3 separate regions of the Homo sapiens genome follow, and regions 1 and 3 are each linked to region 2. Evidence: promoter capture Hi-C in 16 types of primary human blood cells and fetal thymus (Javierre and others, 2016). All regions are on one chromosome and are shown on one strand. The core of a region is centred on a gene start or on the middle of the fragment in contact, and the rest is flanking DNA. Distances in the headings are between cores, read along the strand shown.

Evidence for each region. The method cuts DNA at HindIII sites, captures the fragments that hold promoters and counts their contacts. A CHiCAGO score of 5 or more calls a contact.
Region 1: a fragment that was not itself captured here is called in contact with the fragment with the promoter of CLCN1 in region 2 in 1 of 17 cell types (M0 macrophages); the score reaches 7.6 in M0 macrophages.
Region 3: a fragment that was not itself captured here is called in contact with the fragment with the promoter of CLCN1 in region 2 in 2 of 17 cell types (M0 macrophages and M2 macrophages); the score reaches 6.8 in M0 macrophages.

What each region holds. Positions count from the first base shown.
Region 1 is chr7:143,389,765-143,393,771 of GRCh38, reverse strand. ZYX (zyxin) reads right to left here. Exons shown (of 10, transcript NM_003461.5): 9 at 3,795-3,915; 10 at 2,661-3,194. The coding sequence ends at 3,090. It overlaps EPHA1 (EPH receptor A1), which reads left to right. Exons shown (of 18, transcript NM_005232.5): 16 at 1-101; 17 at 1,997-2,152; 18 at 2,237-2,643. The coding sequence ends at 2,315. Among named protein-coding and RNA genes, the nearest start is that of MIR6892, 9.1 kb to the right of the region's middle. RefSeq lists enhancers at 2-296, 1,606-2,206. The HindIII fragment of the contact is 4,564 bases long and covers 33-4,007 here.
Region 2 is chr7:143,314,765-143,319,231 of GRCh38, reverse strand. CLCN1 (chloride voltage-gated channel 1) reads right to left here and starts at 3,121. Exons shown (of 23, transcript NM_000083.3): 1 at 2,840-3,121. The coding sequence starts at 3,019. The HindIII fragment of the contact is 3,265 bases long and covers 2,305-4,467 here.
Region 3 is chr7:143,221,078-143,225,301 of GRCh38, reverse strand. It overlaps TAS2R40 (taste 2 receptor member 40), which reads right to left and starts at 3,265. Exons shown (of 1, transcript NM_176882.2): 1 at 2,223-3,265. The coding sequence starts at 3,223. The coding sequence ends at 2,252. The HindIII fragment of the contact is 1,727 bases long and covers 1,035-2,761 here.

The sequences.
Region 1 (4,007 bases), core at 1,065-3,564, 75 kb before region 2:
GACCGTGCCCGCCGGCCACACTTCCAGAAGCTTCAGGCACATCTGGAGCAACTGCTTGCCAACCCCCACTCCCTGCGGACCATTGCCAACTTTGACCCCAGGTAACCATGCAGGGGAAGGACTAGGGAACCCAGAGGCAGCGCTAGGAGAGTGGAAATGGGCATTCAGCCAATCTTCTTTGAGCGCTGGGCCTGGGGAGCTCTGGACCAAGTCCAGTGTATGAGGCAAGACGTGCCCTTGGGGAGAGTCCAAGAGGTCAGCTTTAGATTATGCATATTTGCAGAAAATCAGTTATGGCTGGGCCCCAGTTCCCTCACTTCACCTGGGCTTGGGGGTGGGGGGCCCATCTTTTCTCTTCTCAGGCAGCCTCACCTAAGACACTCCCGGAGCCATCCTTGCCAATCCCACTGTGTTGTACTGTGGCCCATTCTTGGGATGCATCCCCTTCCCCATAGAAATATTTCTGCATGTGAAGGAAAGGGTCATCCATTCATGAAGTTTTGGAGGACCTACTGGTGCAAGCTGTTTGCTGGACATTGGAGATACAGCTGCACTTATTACCCAAGCTCCAGGGAGCTTGGGCAGCCAGGCTGGGGTGGGGTAGGTAGCAGCAGCCTTGCAGGGTTTGGGAAGGCTTCTGGATCACATGGCTAGTCTGTGGGGAGCTGAGGGCTGGTAGGTTGCAGATAGTGCAGGATGGCTGCGGCATTGTGTTTAGGAATAGCAGCCATGAGGCTGGAGAGACAACCAGTCAACACAAAGAGGACCAGCCCTGTTGAGAAGTTTGGATTTTACCATGAGTGCAGAGTTGTTGTTTTTTTTTCCACCCCGAGACGGAGTCTTGCTCTGTCGCCCAGGCTGGAGTAACGCAGCGCAATCTCAGCTCACTGCAGCCTCCACCTCCAGGGTTCAAGTGATTCTCCTGTCTCGGCCTCCTGAGTAGCTGGGATTACAGGCACATACCACCATGCCCGGCTAATTTTTGTATTTTTAGTAGAAACGGGGTTTCACCATGTTGGCCAAGCTGGTCTCGAACTCCTGACCTCATGATCCGCCCACCTCGGCCTCCCAAAGTGCTGGGATTACAGGCGTGGGCCACCTCGCCTGGCCTGGAGAACCAATTCTTAAAAGCTGTCCACAGGATGGGGGGACATGGTCAGAGCTGCATTTTACCAAAAATATGGCCTGAGTGTAGAGAATGAACTGATGGGGGGGTGGGGGAGCGCTCAGGTTGGGGAAGCAGGCAAGGCTGTTCTTCAAGTGCTTTATTGGGTAGCCAGCCTGGCCAACTGGCCTCTGTATCCAACCACCATATATAACCTTGTTTCTGGGAGAAAACATGCTCTAAGTTCCAACTTTTGAAACTATCTTTTGGAGCGCAACTCCCTCATACACTGGAGACTGCGTGTGCTAATCTTTCTGGAATGCTGGATATTTTTTCCCCCAGCAGATTTACTTTGCTAATGGTTTTTGGCTCTGGCGAGCTTTAGTACAGGAACACTCATTGTATTGTGGGTGTCAGAGTGCAAGAATAACAGCCGAAGCTGAAGGTGGTGAGGAAGGACTGCTCCCGGAACTCAAGCAGCCACTATGGAAAAAGGCAGGACCACGCCCAGGTGCCAGGCCTCTGTTCTCCTACTTTCAGCTTCCTCTCAGACAGGAGACTTCCATGTCTTAACCAGCCCTCAGTCAGGTGCCCAGAACCGGCCACTCCAGCAGGAGACCGGCTGGTGATCCCCTTCTGTTGGGGCTTCCCAGGACAGTCCCTTCCTATAGGCCTGTCGACATAGCAGGACTGTCAGCCAGTCCACTGTTGTGAGCACACCAGGAAACAGGCCAGGAAGTGGGCTCAGAGATAATGGTGGGGTCAATCCACAGTCTAGATGATCTCTGTGCCCAGACACCGAACTTCAGTGCTGGCTGCTGATGCTCAGAGGCCAAGGCCAACCAGATCAGCCCATGTACCCGCTGTGACTGACATGCCCATGTCCCACAGGATGACTCTTCGCCTGCCCAGCCTGAGTGGCTCAGATGGGATCCCATATCGAACCGTCTCTGAGTGGCTCGAGTCCATACGCATGAAACGCTACATCCTGCACTTCCACTCGGCTGGGCTGGACACCATGGAGTGTGTGCTGGAGCTGACCGCTGAGTAAGGAGCTGGAGCTGTCTGGGCAGGGGAGGGCTGCGGGGGTGGAGCCTCCGGACTCATGCCCCCACCCTTCCTTGCCCACAGGGACCTGACGCAGATGGGAATCACACTGCCCGGGCACCAGAAGCGCATTCTTTGCAGTATTCAGGGATTCAAGGACTGATCCCTCCTCTCACCCCATGCCCAATCAGGGTGCAAGGAGCAAGGACGGGGCCAAGGTCGCTCATGGTCACTCCCTGCGCCCCTTCCCACAACCTGCCAGACTAGGCTATCGGTGCTGCTTCTGCCCACTTTCAGGAGAACCCTGCTCTGCACCCCAGAAAACCTCTTTGTTTTAAAAGGGAGGTGGGGGTAGAAGTAAAAGGATGATCATGGGAGGGAGCTGAGGGGTTAATATATATACATACATACACATATATATATTTTTGTAAATAAACAGGAACTGATTTTCTGCCTCCATCCCACCCATGAGGGCTGCAGGCACTACAAAAGAGCTGACTACTGAGAATTCTGGAAAACAAGGTTTTTTTTTATTTGTAGCTATAGCTACAACTTGGCAGCATGGGGGAGGGTGGGAATGTCCTGGAGGGTCTCCCAGCCCTCCGCAAGCAGAGTACAAAGGCTGCTCGGGGGGCCGGCCGAGGGCGCGGGTGCAGCAGTGAAAGCAGCAGCACTAAACCTGGTGCCCCCCTCAGGTGGGGTGTCTGGAAGACGGTGGGCAATCCCTGCAGGATGGGCGAGGACCAGACCCCAGGGCGGGGATCCTGCATCCCTAGACCATGTTGGGTCCTGGGTCAGGGCACCTGGGATGCTAGGGAGGGGTTGGAAATGGGAGGGGCTAGACATCAAAACAATAACTGAGGTGGGGGCAGGTGGTCTCAGTGTGGGTGGTCCACAATGGGGCATGGACTGCGGTCTGAAGAGGGCCTGTCCTCACTCAGGTCTGGGCTCTAGCAGTGTGGCACTTCCGACAGAGCACGTGACCGTCCAGGGGGAAGCAGCCATTGTCATCTGCCTCAATCGACAGGGGCTTCCCGCAGTCCTGGGAAGAAGGAAGGGTGAGGGGCACTGGACCGGAAGGCCCCTGCTCTGCTCCACCCTACCCCACCCCATCCAGCTCCATCTTGGAATTAGAAAGATGCTTCATGGCTCAGAGCTGGTGTCATCGCTTTTTCCAGCCACACCCAACTCCCCATCCCTATCCTACTTCCAGTCACCCACTAGGACCTTCCTGCAAGAGGGCAAGCAGTGGGTAGAGCTGCTCCCAAGGTGCTTGCTCCCCTGCCCACCACCACCCTAATAAAATAGAGGTTGGCTCACCTCCATTCGAAGACCTCTTCTCTCAGCTCCTGTTTCCCCATCCCCTACCACGGTAAAACACCATGCCCTTCTTCTCTCCTATTGGCTTGTCCCATTTCTTGGCTTATCCATGACTCAAAGTGACCTCAGAAGCCCCACAGCCCCATTTCCTGCAGTGGCAGGAAGCATTCTGGCAGGACAGATGGGGTGCCACCATGAGCCACCCTCAAAATCACAGCCCTGTTTCCTGAATGCTGGTGCTTTCCACCTCCCAGTTAGTAAGCAGCATCTCCCGCCACCTCCTGGTCAGAACCTGCCCAAGGAGTCCAGAGGGATGGCTGACCTCACACTTGTAACACTTCATGTGGAAGTTCTTGTCCAGGGCGACCACTCGCACAGTCTCATCTCGGCCAGGCTCAGGCATGATGGGCTCAGAGCAGACGGAGCACCTCGGGGCGTACTGCCTGGAAGGGGCAGAAAGGGCCAGCCGAGTTAGCCAGGGCTTTCATCCCCGGTGTGCGCACGCATAAGCCAGGTTGGGCAGCAAGGAAGCAGA
Region 2 (4,467 bases), core at 1,872-4,371:
AGACCATCCACTTCATCTCCCAGTGCTTGTATGCACACACAAGAACTAGCCCGAAAAGGCAGGTCCATCTACTTCTTCCCACAGCTAGATAATTAGACCCCTACCTGCCCCACATGTGAAGAGGACAGAGCAGCTCCCCCAGGTCTGGTGGCCCTCCGCTTCCATCCTGAGGCAGAGCACGTGTGTCTGTGTGGGGTATACAAGAGCTCCAACCACTTTTAGCCTGCCCCACTCCCACTACACTAACTGTCCTCTGGGGCCAGGGTCAGGCCAGGCCATGTTGCTGGATTCTGGGAGAGCCTGAGTAGAAGAGATCTGATTTCACAATATGAGCAGCATTTTACACCGCAGTCCTGAACAAGCACGCACATGAATTGCCCTGCTCATGGCTGTTTGTCTTCTGGGTCAGTGACCGAGGGAGGCAGTGTTTCCTTCCAAACCCTGCGTGGGACCCAGAGAGAGAACATACTTCCCAGTGGAAGTCAGACAGCTGAGGCTGTCTCAGCTCCTCAAGGCCCCAGGCCAGTGGAGACAAGGAAGGGGGTTGCTTCATATCATCATACCTGGGCTGGGAAAACACTTAAAGGGCCAGATCTGTTCTGGCTGGTCCCATGCAGGGCAGGGTGAGGGGAGGGCAAGGGAGAAGTCAAAACTCAAGTCTACAAGTGATACAATGTCTGGGATTTGTTAAAAAGTATTCCAAGGTGGAAGCAAGGCTCAGTGGCTCACCCCTGTAACCCCAGCACTTTAGGAGCCTGAGATGGGCAGGTTACCTGAGGTCAGGAGATCAAGACCAGCCTGACCAACATGGAGAAACCTCGTCTCTACTAAAAATACAAAAATTAGCCAGGCATGGTGGCGCATGCCTGTAATCTCAGCTACCTGGGAGGCGGAGGCAGGAGAATTGCTTGAACCAGGGAGGCGGAGATTGCGGTGAGCTGAGATCGCGCCATTGCATTCCAGCCTGGGCAACAAGAGCGAAACTCCATCTCAAAAACAAAAAACAAAAAACAAAAAACAAAAAAAAAGTATTCCATGGTGTGTAGAGTGGTGAGGGTGGGGAAGGGAAGAATAGATGGAACAATAGTGACAAAATATTGACAACTGGTGGGTACTTGGGGCTTCACTATACCATTCCATTTTTGTGTAAGTCTTCCATAATAAAAATTAAACAAAGAAAAACTAATCCAAACTCTTGTTTACTTTTGAGACCTGTAGAAAACAGGCCAATTCTACTCCCCAAACTAACCATAGCTTCCCAACACGAGAACTGTCATCAGGAAGTGCCATAATGGCACTGTTACTCAAGTTGCCATCCCACCCAGATACAACCATGTACACGAGTGAGAACACAGGGCCAGGGGGAGGGGTCTTCCCTCCTGCTGATCCCACACAGTGTTCAAAGGCCTAGTCAGACCCCGCTGTCTCCAAGAAACCTTCCCAATGCTCGATTCCAGCCTACACTGACCTGTATGTCCCTCTTCCCTACTGGGTCCCTAGCGCTGCCTTTGCAAATACTCCTGGGGGTTGGTCAGGGACTGAGAGCAGATCCTTTTGACCCCCAGTGCTGAGATCCCCTGCATAGCTCATGCCTCAGCTTCCCAGCCTTAAACCTAAAGGAACTGAAGGCTCCCTGTTAAAAAAAAAAAAAAGAAAGAAAAAAAAGCCTTTTAAGTTCTGACCAGACTGGGCACAGTGGTTAACACCTGTAATTCCAGCACTTTGGGAGGCCAAGGCGGGTGAATTACCTGAGGTCAGGAGTTCGAGACAGCCTGGCCAACATGGCAAAACCCCGTCTCTACTGAAAGTACAAAAATTTGCCAGGTATGGTGGCAGGTGCTTGTAATCCCAGCTACTCAGGAGGCTGAGGAAAGAGAATTGCTTGAACCCGGGAGGCGGAGGTCGCAGTGAGCCAAGATAGCACCACTGCACTCCAGCCTGGGAGACAGAGCGAGACTCCATCTCAAAAAAAAAAAAAAAAAAAAAAGTTCTGGCCAACTGCCCTCTAGACAAATTCTATCCTCTGTTATTCTCTGCATTCTTTGGAGGGAGAGGCACACTTACTTATTAACCATGACCTATCTTTTTCCATGACAATTTCACAACCTTTCCTTTAGTTGTGCCCATCCCCATTCCCCCTTTCCTAGGTGTTCATATCCCACCAATCCCACAGCGGGAGGCTGCTCATCCATAGACACTCCTAATTAGCCTGCATGCTTCTGTTGCTGGGATCACATCTCTGCCCTTTTCCAGGTGCCTAACACTTAATAGGTTCTTACTTGATCATCTTGCGACCTAAAAGCTTGTACATCTCTGCTCATTTTGACGTTGGTAGATCTTTGATCACTGATAAGCAATTCAGTCTGTTTTCTACACTTGCCCAATTCCTTTCTTCTGCCTTCTGCAGAAAGATTCATGTTTGTGTGTATTCTGCAGAGGGTCCCAGAGGCAGAAATCTGGCAGTGTCTACCTGTGGGTGAGGGTGTGGGAGACAGCTCCCAGCACACTGCAGTGTGGGCTCCTACGCAATCCACTCCACGTAGGTTATGTAAGCACGAGCTATTCATGCATGTGAGGCTCTGCTGTTTCCCCATATGATTTGGGTACTCTGTTGGTAAAGGTTGTATGAAAGTGCATGCATATCTCTCTAAGTGCATACTTAAGTGAGCCCAGACTTTCAAAGATTTTCATATTTTGAACACATCACCACGTACTTGTTTTTTAAGTTAAAAAAATGTAACACTGCTCCCTCTTTTCACCCAATTCCTCATTTTCACCAGTCTCTGGCACCACTGTCTCCCCTCATCCATGGCTCCCCTCTCCCCTTAGAGCACTTTACCTGTGTGGGGTGGACGTTGTGGCGGGGGCCTGCATCCTTCCGGAGCCTGTGCTGGAGGCCCCCATTCTCAGAGGGCAGTCCGTAGCTGGTGCAGTGTTCAAAGGGCATATACTGGTACTGGGGGTCACTACCCCACCAGCTTTGTTCACCCCCACGCTGCTGTGACCGGGATTGCTCCATATTCCCTCCCCCCGAGCCCCGGCCAGGCCTTGGCCTGCTTGCCCCTGTCCTTCCCCCAGTGTAGCTCCTTAAGCCTCTGCTCTTGCTGTCCCCAAGGCGTCTGGGGCAGCATGCCCACCTCCAGCTATTTATAGACCCCTCTCCGTCACATGACCCCCCACTGCCACATCTGATCTGCTTGGGGTCGAAGCAGGTGTGAGTGCAGTGTGGGGGTGGGGGTTGGGATGAGAACCTGAGGGACAGCCCCACAGGGAATTCCCTCTGCTGAGCCAGTGGCATTGTCCCCCTTCTTAGTCACCAGTAGTAGGCTTCCAGCTCCATGTCACTGGTCCCTCTATAAATATCGCCTGGACCAGGATGAGAAACTGCTGAGTATGCTCTCAAACCTATGTGTAGAGCCGGATCTGCATGGAAGCCCTCCAGTTGCCCATCTCTCTTCTTCAGGATGCGGAAGGTGAGGGGTGGGTGCTGGATAAAGATGAAGCGACTCGAAGTTCTGGAAACACTGGCACATTAACTCACCTGGGAAAGTAACTGGTGCCTCTCTGCCACATCTCCTGGCCAGCTTGTTCCCAACTCTGTGTCCACCCAGGGTTCTGTCTGGCCAGCTCTGCCAGCCCATCCCATGTCCAGCGTTCTTCTCTAGCTCTTTGCCCTTCTGTCTGCCAGAGGCTGCTAATAACAGCTTGGGGGCATCCCCTGATCCCATCCTTATCACTCACTGGGTGTGGAACACTTATGGGAAGTGGGAAGTCGAGGGTCGGTAATAGCCTTGGGTTCTAGAATTTCTCCCACTTCCCAGACTGTTAGGTGTCAGCCACACTGCCAACCCGGAGGGACTGAGCTTCCATTTGGACTGTGGAGTGCCCACACTGGCTCCATCAGATAGATAACAAGGGAGATAACAGGGGAGAATCGAAAGTAGAAAGAGGCACAGGGAAGGGAGAGGTGGGAAAGGGGTGAGGGCTTCTCATGACAAGCCCGACAAACATGAAAGATGATGGGGAAGTGCTCTCTGCTATTCTTCCCTTTTCAGGTCAATAAATACTTTTTTGGCCAAGGACAAACTTTTCTTCCTGGCATCACGTTATAAAACCAATTTTCCTATGACATGTCTTCCCTATGAACTCTTCACTGTAGGAGAAAAGATATGAACTGAGCCAAAGTAAAGTTTAGGATGCATTACCAAGTGGGGTCTGTCCCAGGACAGTCCAAGTTCAGGGACTGCAGGGTAGGGACACCAAACATCTGGTCTACAATGTGATTTTGACCTAGGCTAAATGGAACCACCCAAAGCAGGAGGGAAGCCAATATCATTAAAAGTACTTTTTCTAGGGCCTCAACATCATTAATCATCAGGAAACCAAAATCATAATGCAATATCGCCTCATACCTGTTAGGATGGCTATTATCAAAAAAGCAAGAGATAGCCATTATTATGGCTATGG
Region 3 (4,224 bases), core at 649-3,148, 93 kb after region 2:
GCCAGATACCCTGCCTCTGGGCTGGGCCTGCCAGACTGGAATCCATTGCTAACCAAAGTCCCCTTACCTGCTCCACATGCTAGATGAATATTCAGAGTGACTTTGTGGGTAAAGGAATCCTTCACTCTATCACTTTCAACATCCCGCAGGGCTGTGGGGCGAGGGAGATGATGTAGAGTTTGCAAGGTGAAAACCTGTAATAATATTGAGACCACAGCAAGCCGGGCTTTGCATTTGGTTACAGACTTTTGTCCAGCAGAGTCGATTATTGTCTTCATTTAGGACTTCTGATTGCTGTCTAAAGCCAGACAACTTGAAGACTAGGTATTCTGGGTCTTTCTGAGTGCTTACTTGGGTTTTACATACAGAAGAAAGAGAATTGGAGAGAATTTTATCTCGTTGAAGGCAGGCCAACATGTGCATCGATAAGGATGTTATCATCCTTGGAGCTTTTGTTAGCTATGTGCTGCCTTAGGCTCTTGCTAGCAATGAGATGATATTTCTTCATAGTAAGTATGGAGTTATCCACTTTGTGGTCTTGACATGGTTCATGTTAATATAATGGCAACTTTAAATCAATTTTCTCTCTAACTCTGTAATGCATCAGAGAACCCTTAGTGGGTACATGACCCTTTTATCAATATATATAACTTGGAAGAAAATGTATATTTCTCTATTCTAGGGACTGGAATAAAACTTCAATATCTAATTTGTCTTACTATAACAAATACCGCCTGAAATAGTCATATAAATAACTATAGCTTAAGAAAACTATCAAAAATGTGTGTTTTATTAATATTTTACTTTTCAGGTAAATAAGTCCCAAGCTGTCTGAGCTATAAAGGAATCTGTGTGTGTGTGTGTGTGTGTGTGTGTGTGTATGCCATGTGTCTGTGTGTATGCCGTGTGTGTGTGTGGTTTTTGCAGTTTATGGATGTAAGGAACTCTCTCTGAAATGTGTGCTTGAGAGCGCTGGAGCTCAGAACTAGACTTTGCTACTGACCTCATATTTTCATTTGGGGGCTACCTAAGCTTGGTATGATCCACAGCATTCTTTTTTCATTTTCCTCAATAATCATGATTTAAAACTTACCTAATAAAAGACAACTTCAGATTCCTAACGTTCAAGCTCTAAGATATCTGGGGAGAGGGTGTCCAATGTTTTGTGAACAGCTCTTTGAGACAATGCTGCTGGAACCATCCTGAACAATGACAATGGAGAATAATGTTTTTCCTCTTCTCCAGCAGCCTGCCCCAAGTAACCCGCTCTTGCCCCACTATTTACTTCAAGGTAACCCAGAACTGGTAAAACCAGAGGCACAGGTGCCGCTAGCATTGCCACAGAGTCAGGAGCTGAGCAAAACAGACGCTTACTTACTCTGGCCTCTTCCTTTTCTCTTTCTGCTTCCTGCCCACTTCACTCTTTTCCCTGCATTCTTTCTTTCCTCTCTGCTCACTTTGTCCCCTCCCATTTGGAGAAATAAAGCATTGAACTGACCCTTCACATATCCATCTGCCGTTCTATAACTCATCTTTATCTGCAAACATCCTCTCTAGACTATTGGTTTTTACCCATCCCCTCCCTTTTGGCATTATCTTCTGGAACTCCTGGGATCAGGATGTCACCCTATCACTCCACTAATGGCACACATGGCATCCTTTTAGTCAAATCCAGAGCCTTTTTCTTCACCCTTTACTTTCCTCGGAACTCTGCAGCACTTGATAATTTCCAGCAGCCTTTCTTTCCTGAATCTTCTTTTTCTGTAGCCACTCTGGTTTCCCTTCTACCCCGTGGACTGAGTGCTGTGCTCTGCTTCACCAGCCCTAACTGTGTGTTAGTTGGGTGTCTTAAGTAGGATGATCATGTAATTCTTCATCCAGACCATGATATTCTTGAGAATTAAAGGATGCTCAATTGACAACAGACAATAAACAGAGATTGTCCCTGGCAAACCGATATGTCTGGCCACCCTCTCCTTAAGGCTCAGGAGGAGAAGAAAGTGGAGAGATCTCAGGGCAGGATATGAATGAACATAGTTCAAGGAGCTTTCAAAGTCCATCTTCAGGTTTCTTAGTTACTTCTGTTTAGAATCTCAAGTTAAAAATTCAGCTTCATATTTATAAAAGGATCACGTTATCTGAGAAGTGTCAGAGCAGGTTTGGGAGAGAAGAGACGGGTGAGGAGAGAGTTCTACCTGAGGCAAAGGCAGAAGTGGTTGGACCAGGTCCCGCAGAACTCCGTGAGTTCCAGTCACAGAGTCTGCCCTTTTAGGTAAAGAGGAACTTGGTGCTGAAACCGCTTCCAGGCTCTTCTCAGCCCAGGGTTGCCCAAGATCAGTTGTACTGAGTGGCCGGCAGGGTAGGCAGCCATGATGATCTTGCACAAAATATTCCAGGAACTGTAAGTGTCAAAGATGTTGGACGTGGAAAGAAATAGAGCAATTGCATTGAAAATGTAGAGGATGAGAAAGTAGCTGGTGGCTTTGATGGCCCCTATGTGAGCCTTCATGCTGGGGTCCCTGGACCCTGTGGCATTGCTTCCCATGTGTAGGGTGTGTCTCTTGAGAGAGAGGATCAGCAGGGTGGCTGCCAGGATGAACATGATCAGAGGAACGAAGATCCCCATGTTATAGAAAAATACCAGGTTGACCATATTGGTCTCAGAGAAGTACTTCTTCTCCGTGGAGTTGGAGGAGGGGATAGGAATGGAGCTATTCACATACACATTGAAGACATCTCTCGAGAGAGGAAAGCTGAAGCTTAAGGAAACCAACACTGACAGCCTGAGAAGCCAAGGCATCAGCACTATGATTTTCCTCTTCATCAGGAAGAACAAAGGATGATTGAAGTTTGCAATTCTAAGACAATAGAAGACTTTGAGCCAGGCAGCAAACCAGAGATTGGAATGGTTCAGAAAGACAGTGATGACTTTGAAGAGGATATACACTGAGTTTTGGTTATAAACAATTCGGAATAGCAGACTGAAAATGTTCTCCAGCATCATCCAAATCTGTAGCAAGAGCCTGGAAAAGCTCAGCATCAACATAATGCGGTCACCAGTGGGGAGTGTTTTGCCCCTGGCCCACTCAGCCCCATAGATGGCCGTGATGAAGCCACTCCCAAGGATGCCAGTGATGCACTCTATTCCGGAGACCACCAAAGTGAAGGTGACCTTGAACTTGGATATGTCTTTATCTGTGGCATCTGTGTTCACCGTTGCCATTCTCTTTGATCCTGACTTTCAGGTTTCTGCGCCAAGAATGGGTAACTGCTCTGCAATCTTCTGACCCTTGCTCAATGTTATAATTTCTGCCGCCCTCATTAATGGTTATTTCCAATTTTTCTCCATTTGTTTATCACATGACTACAAGTTAGAGGCTTCACATGCAAATAATGAGAGGATCTGGTTACTGGGTCTGTCTCAATTTTTCATAAAGATACATTTGTCTTGGGCTTTCAGAAGCTCACTGGAAATAATTTGAGACATGTTTCTAGCTCAACACCTTCTTACCTTATTTACTTTAAGTCCACATTTACCTGATAAGCAATGAATACAAGGCCTTTTTACTTGTCTCACAAGATCTCTGTTACCTGCTAAATTATTTGTAAAAGCTCATACAGCTTTTAAAATCTGTTTTCCCCACTTCTTTTCTTGTCTCTCTTATTTTGGGAGAGAGTTTTATTTTGATAGTTACCATGTTTGTGAATAAGAAATTCCCATAAGCTCATATATGAACATCTTTTACTTAGAATTGAGTTTCTTCCAAAAAGGCCTGCTATTATAATGTCCTCGAATAGTATATAGAAAAGCCAAAATTGGATGCTATTCGAGTTGGAGAGAAGGAAGTCTCCATAGTCCCAGTTTTTATTGTTTGTGTATGTGTCATCAATTTCAGCTTACTGAGATCCCACATGACTATTTGAGCTCAGAATCAGGTAGAATGAGCCTGGGGAGAATTCAGTGTTCTGGACATGGTGTTGAAGTTTGGAAATGTGATAAGGTACTATGACTTGAAATTTAATTTCCTACTTTTTAACCCTGGCTGTGAACCAGAATGAACTCTGGCACTTTACAAGAATATGTAGATGCCCAGGACTCGTCCAAATCTAGGAAATCAGAACTGGACTAGGGCTCAGGCATGCTATCTTTTAAAAAAGCCGAAAGGTCTTGTTGCTCATAGTCAGGATTGAGATCCAAAATCTTAGCTGGAAACCAATGAGCCT